Regions from separate parts of the Homo sapiens genome. Here region 2 is linked to region 1. The links are contacts of gene promoters, found by promoter capture Hi-C in human tissues and cell types (Jung and others, 2019). All regions are on one chromosome and are shown on one strand. Each heading gives the region's core, a stretch centred on a gene start or on the middle of the fragment in contact. The rest is flanking DNA. Distances are from core to core; before and after follow the strand shown.

Region 1 (3,459 bases), core at 13-2,512:
ATAAAGGGCTGCATTGCAGATCCTTGCAGCCTCATTGGAATTCAGCAGGCGCTCGGCCCAGGGGCGGACAGCTCCGACAGGCAAAATCCCAGGAGCCACGTCCTCCCCCGCAGCGCTGGCTGCCGACAGCTCCCATGCCCTGATGCCTCTCGCGTGTGCACCCCCACTCCCACCCCCACAAAGCGTCCTGCCGTGGCACCTGAGCCATTTCTCTTCCCAGGCGGACCCATCGGTAGGGGGAAGGGACGAAAGAAAGGGCAGGAGAACCTGGAAGCAGAAACAAAGATGGCCCCAGGCCCCGTCCTGTTTAAAGCTCTGCAGGGCGGGCATGTAGCTGGACAGGCGCTTCTACTCTCTTACCCGGAATGCCCACCCCCACACTGACACACTCCAGCCCCACGTCTACACACACCAGTCAGGGCCTGGAGCCCCAGGGGCCCTCTGAGGACCAGCCAAGGTGGCAGGTGACTGGTCTCAGGCCAAGATAGGGGAGCCAGCAGACCCTGGTGTTTGGTTCCTAGTGAGACGAGGCCTCCCGGAAGCAGCCAGCTGACTCTGGGGTGGTGTCTTACAGGGAGGAAGGGGGCACGGAAAGGATGGAATGAAACTGGGGGTGTGGGGTTGCAGGATGGAGGAGAGGGGAGGTGGGTGGCGGAGGTGGGGGAGGGCACCTGGCTGGAGATGAGGTCCTCGCACACCGACAGAGCCATCTGGATGGCGTTGGGCTTGTGCGTGACGGAGGTGGCATTGAGCTGAATCTTCCAGGAGCCGTGCCGCTTGTTGGCCTGGTTCACGGCCTCGCGGAACATCTGCTCGTGCTTCCGCGTGCTCAGCACCGCGCCAATGTTGACGATCTTGGGGTCGCACGCGGCACGGGCGACGGAGCAGGAGAACAGCAGGGCGAGCGTCAGCAGGCGCATGGTGCTCATGGGCTCGGGCCGCGGGCCTGGCTCTGCGCGGCGCGAACGCGGGGCCCTCGGCGCATCCCCCGCGGGGCTTCCGGGCCGTCCTGCGCTCGCCCGGCCCCGCGGGCTGCGGACGCCACGTCTCCCCCGGAGCGGCGGTCCCGGGACGTCGGCCGAGGGAAGGGGCGCTGAAGCGTGCGCGGGGGCTCGGGGCTCAGCCCCACGCGGCCGGCGCTGTCCGCGGTGCTGAAGCGGGGCCGGGCACAGCTCCGAGCGCCCGGCTTGGAAAGGGCCCGGCGGCGGCGGCGGCGGCTCCGCGGACGGCGCTGGTTCCGGTCCGGACGCTGCGGCGACTGCAGCAGCTGCAGAAACGCGAGCGGGGCCAACGTCTCCTGCCCCTCCCGCCGCCCCCGCTTCCCAACACGGAGGCGAAGGGGGCGCCTCCCGCGCCAGAGCGTGCGCCTGCGTTCGCGTGAGCGTGTGTGTCGGAGCGCGCGTGAGCCGGGGAGCGCGCGTGTGCGTGTGAGCGCGTGCCTGGAGGGGTCCTGGGACAGGGGCCTGTGCTGTCGGGGACCTGCAGGGAGCTCAGTTTGGAAACGTTAGAGGGGTCCGTGTCACCGCGTGCAGCCCGCACCCTTGCGTGCCTTTTAATAGGACCGAACGCGTCGTGCCCGCTTGTATGTGTGTGTGCGCGCAAGAGTCGTCACCCACAGTCAGCGATATTTCGGCTCCTGACTCTTGCAGACTGGAGCTCCAGAGGGGTGGGGGAGGCCCTAAGCCATGGCTCTGGGGGGCGCTCCCTTCAAGGTTCCCCTCCCCACAAGGTTCAGAAATGAGGGAGAGGCCCCATCTGCGTGGCCATGTAACTTGGGACCCCCCTCCTCGGGCTAAGAGGAATAGGGAGGGTGACCGTGGCTGCCGCATGTGCTCAGCCAGGCCTTCCGCGAGAGCCTGGAAACTGGACCCGCACTGACTGGGGCTGAGGTCGGACACCAGGAATCACTGGAGCGCCGCGAGGTGTGTTCGGGGCCAGCCGTTTCACACCCTCAGCTTCCGCTCCTCTCTCCCTCTCCAGCCCCCTCGCAATGCGCTCCCAGCGCCCCCTTTTCCAGAGCCTTACCCATCCCTCTGGTCCACACCACCCTGTCTTTGTCCCCCTCCACCCCTGGAGTGTGCGTGCCCCTCCCTAACTTGAAGGATGGCTGAAGCTCCGCCCCTGCCAGTGATGTCACCATTTCCAATAGCAACTGAGGATTCTGCAGACCTAACAGCAAACGCCCCCAATGGGACAAAACAGGGTCGTCACCACACCTCTGCTATGTGCAGCAGTGCAGCAAGGGAAGTCATGTGCCCACAGGGGTCACACTCTCTCTCCCGCTTGCCGTTCTCTCCATCAGCCGAACACTGGCACCAGGGACCCCCTGGAGCTGAGAGGAGGGGGAGGGGCTGTGGTGTTTGACAAGCTCCTCCTCTTGGCCCCTTCTCTCTCAATACAGGAAAATCTTTCCTTGGGGGATCACCTGCCCGTACCCTGCTGCAGACCCCGCCTCTCCCCGTTCGGGTTGAGGCACACGGGTCATCCGCCTCGGGGCCCTCACTCCTTCTGTTGGCTCTCAGGAGGGTGTGTGTGGGTGCTCAGGGGGACTGAGCTGGCCCTATCTCCAGGAGTTTGTGGCCCATCTCCAAACTTCCACCTCGGCAGGGCACAGTGGCTCATGCCTGTAATCTCAATACTTTGGGAGGCAAGGGCAGGTGGATCACCTAAGGTCAGGAGTTCGAGACCAGCCTGGCCAACATGGTGAAACCCTGTCTCTACTAAAAATACAAAAATTAGCCGGGCGTGGCGGCAGGCATTTGTAATCCCAGCTACTTGGGAGACTGAGGCAGGAGAATCGCTTGAATCTGGGAGGCGGATGTTGCAGTGAGCCAAGATCGCACCATTGCACTCCAGCCCGGGCGACAGAGCAACACTCCATCAAAAAAAAGAAAAAAAAAAGTATCCGCCTCAGGCAGGCCAGAGCCTGGCAGCTGCGTGGGGGTAGACCTGAGCCCAGACAGCGCCTCATCAGCGTGGAAGAAAGGGGTTGGAGGCTGCAGCAGAGGCCCTGGCTCCACCCACCCACCCCCACCCCGTGGGGTGCTGGAGCGACTCCCGCTGACCCTGGAGAGCTGATCGCTAAATGTTCAGACACCTGCCAGCAGCTGTTACAGTCAGGCTTCGAAATTGGCCACAGTGGGATTATCTCTGCTGCCACGGAATCATCAAACCCCACAAACCAGGGCTTTTTCTTTTCTACTCAGGGAGCTGGTCTGCCAGTGGGTCACTGCCCCACCGGACCGTATGTGCGTCCCCAAGCTTCTGTTCAAGACCCCTTGGCAGGTTGTCCATGATGGAGATGGGGTGGAGGCCGCGTCTCCAGGCCACAGCTCCTCCTGTGAGCGAGTCTTTCCTGGATTCTGCTCTGCATTTTCCCCCCGTGGGCTTCTTCCACAACCATGAGGGAGGGGGCAGTGGTACCACAACAGATGAGCCTGGACTCGGACCCCTCTGAGA
Region 2 (3,141 bases), core at 493-2,992, 250 kb after region 1:
CAGGAGAATCACTTGAACCTGGGAGGCAGAGGTTGCAGCGAGCCGAGATCGCACCATTGCACTCCAGCCTGGGCAACAAGAGCGAAACTCTGTCTCAAAAAAAGAAAAAAAAAGGCCAGGCGTGGTGGCTCACACCGGGGGACAGAGCGAGACTCCGTCTCAAAAAAAAAAAAAAAACAGAAAAAACCACACAAACAAAAAAAGAAAAACAAACAAACAAGTTTTAACGTAAAAAAGCCCCTCAGTGGTGGCTCACACCTGTAATCCCAGCACTCTGGGAGGCCGAGGTGGGCGGATCACGAGATCAGATCGAGACCACCCTGGCTAACATGGTGAAACCCCGTCTCCATTAAAAATACAAAAAATTAGCTGGGCGTGGTGGCGGGTGCCTGTAGTCCAGCTACTCGGGAGGCTGAGGCAGAAGAATAGCGTGAACCCAGGAGGCAGAGGTTGCAGTGAGCCGAGATCGTGCCACTGCACTCCAGCCGGGTGACAGAGCGAGACTCCCCTCCACAGGAGAGTGGGGGCATCTGGCACCCTTGTTGCTGGTAGGGCCGAGCTGTGTGTTCCCTTCACAATGGGACACCCCCACAAGAAATCAGAGGCCTTCACTAAGCTGGAGTCATCAGGCAGCTGAGACCTGGCATCCTGACTCTGGTGTGTGAACATGGTTTGGTGGCATCGGTGACTCTCAAAAGGACAAGCTGTATTGTTACACAAGTCAAACACTGCCCAAACCATGACATCAAATCAGATATGGGTGCAACCTGGCCGCTGCAGGGGTCACCTAGTCGCCGCAAACGCTTGGGTTCAACCCAGGCCTCGCCCTTCTCACAAGCAGACTCCAAGATGCCCCAAATGCTGGAGATTCAAACCTCAATTCATGTCTCCACCAACAGCACACAACTGCTTCATACAATACTGGACTCCACGTAAGAGTTCACTGGGTGGCACCCGATTCTTTTTGAGATGGAGTCTCGCTCTGTCACCCAGGCTGGAGTGCAGTGGCGCGATCTCGGCTCACTGCAAGCTCCGCCTCCCGGGTTCACGCCATTCTCCTGCCTCAGCCTCCGGAGTAGCTGGGACTACAGGCGTCAATGGCACCTGATTCTAACCCACTTCTATAAAAGCTCATCTGAGTAATATTCAGGAACACTGATCTGCATGCAGCCATGAATATGAGGCCCTCCAAATACTAGAAGTTAACTTTAAAACTGTAATTTCATGGCCGGGCGCGGTGGCTCATGCCTGTAATCCTAGCACTTTGGGAGGCCGAGGCGGGTGGATCACCTAAGGTCAAGAGTTTGAAACCAGCCTGGCCAACATGATGAAACCCTATCTCTACTAAAAATACAAAAAATTAGCCGGGCGTGGTGGTGCACGCCTGTAATCCCAGCTGCTCGGGAGGCTGAGGCAGAAAAATCGCTTGAACCCAGGAGGCGGAGGCTGCAGTGAGCCGAGATCGAGCCACTGCACTCCAGCCTGGGCAACAAGACCAAAACTATCTCAAAAAATAAATAAATAAAATTACAATTTTATATGTAACCCCATCTTTTTCAGGCTCAAAATAATACCAAATAGAAGCTTGATAACAACCTAAACTCTTAACAACTGTTTATACAAAAGTATCAGAAGCAAGCGTGGTAGAAGAGGAGATCTTGAACCTTACAAGTGTCCACCCATTAATACATTCAGTTCCTCTTATTAAAAACTAGGGCTATTAACAGGGAGAGAGACTGAGTTACAGGGCAGTAATTCCGTCCCTTCAAAATCATGTGGCCACAGAGCAGGGTCCGTTCTCAGTCCTAGTTTCCCTTGACTTGACCCAGACCAGACTCCCTCCTCCTCCGAGCCCCGTCTTCACCGGCTGCCAGACACCCCACCCCCTGTCGGCCCTACACCGAGTGGAGGCTTGGTGCTCTTCTGCACTGACCCTCAGCCCTCGGGGCCTCAAAATGACAACTCCAAAATACCCAGCTCTGGCCCTGACCGTTCCCCTGACCCCAGGCTGCCCATCTGGCCGCCTCCCGAGAGGCCATGGGCGCTGTGACTCCTTCATCTTGGCCTAGGAAGCACCAGCCTTCAGCTGCTCACGCCAGATTCTTGCAGACATTGCAACTCCTCTTTTTCTCGGCTCTACCTTCCACAAACATCCCCTGCTACTGCCAGGACCAGGCCCCGGCCCCGATCCCGGCCCGGTCCACCGCAGCCCATCCCCGCACTGGCTCCTTGCTGCCCCCGACCCTCCCAGCAGCCAGAGGGACTTTTCACCCAGGCTCAGCCTGGGTCTCCCCAGCCACTGGGCAGGAAGGCAGCAGAGTCGGCTCCGCCCCCAGCCTCACTGGTCTTCCCCGACCCCTGGCTGGGGGGCGCTGGCAAACTCAGGGGTCGGAGGCGCCCCTGACCCTCCCGAGCACGCAGCCGGCTGAGGGTGCGGGGCTTCGGGGACACGAGGGGCCCACAGCTGAGCGTGGAGGGGCGACAGGGTGCGGGGGAGCGACGGACCCGGGACGGGGCAGGGCCGGGTGGGCCGCCCACGGGCCTCAGGCGGTACTGGGAGCCGCGACCCCGCGCAAAACCCCGGACCGTGCCCTGGCGCTGCTCCGAGCACGGCCGCGCGCGTTCCCGAACTTTCCCGCGCCAGCCACGCTCGGACTTGGTTTCCGGCCCAGCGGCTCAGAGAAATCCCCTCGGGCTGGCCCCGCCCCCGCCCCGCGGCCTCTCCCGCCCCCGCTCCCGCTCCGGCCCGGAGTCTCCCTGAGAGGTGCCCGCGCCTGCGCCCGACCCCGCGCCCGACCCCGCACCCGACCCCGCGCCCGCGCCCGACCCCGCACCCGACCCCGCGCTCGCCTCACCCAACGGTCGCAGCGCGCCCGGAACTAAGGGCCCGCCCAGCTACCGCCCCCAACGCCGCCGCCGCCGCCGCCGCTCCGCCGCGTGCGCCTGACGGACGGACATGGGAGCCAACCAGCCAGCCCTCAGGAAGCTGTAGCGAGAGCCATTGGCCAGATACGCCCCGCTCCGAGCGCGCCTGACGGACTGACGCCGGAGCCAACCAGCGAGCCCGCAGGAGCCGCAGCGTGCGCCGATTGGTCGGCGCTGAGACGGCGTGGGTACCTAAGTCGCCCTCTGCTTTTTCCT

What was found. Contacts are between HindIII fragments. The study calls those that stand out against the background at their distance.
Region 2: a contact is called between a fragment that was not itself captured here and the fragment with the promoter of GRIN1 in region 1, in 1 of the 25 tissues and cell types used here (lymphoblastoid cells).

Annotation. Positions count from the first base shown.
Region 1 is chr9:137,136,957-137,140,415 of GRCh38, reverse strand. It overlaps GRIN1 (glutamate ionotropic receptor NMDA type subunit 1), which reads right to left and starts at 1,262. Exons shown (of 20, transcript NM_007327.4): 1 at 672-1,262. The coding sequence starts at 929. RefSeq lists a silencer at 1,425-1,719. The HindIII fragment of the contact is 23,460 bases long and covers 1-3,459 here.
Region 2 is chr9:136,886,256-136,889,396 of GRCh38, reverse strand. It overlaps TRAF2 (TNF receptor associated factor 2), which reads right to left and starts at 2,881. Exons shown (of 11, transcript NM_021138.4): 1 at 2,856-2,881. It overlaps MIR4479 (microRNA 4479), which reads right to left and starts at 2,664; the gene lies at 2,594-2,664. RefSeq lists enhancers at 1,449-2,184, 2,185-2,920 and a silencer at 2,297-3,106. The HindIII fragment of the contact is 4,160 bases long and covers 1-3,141 here.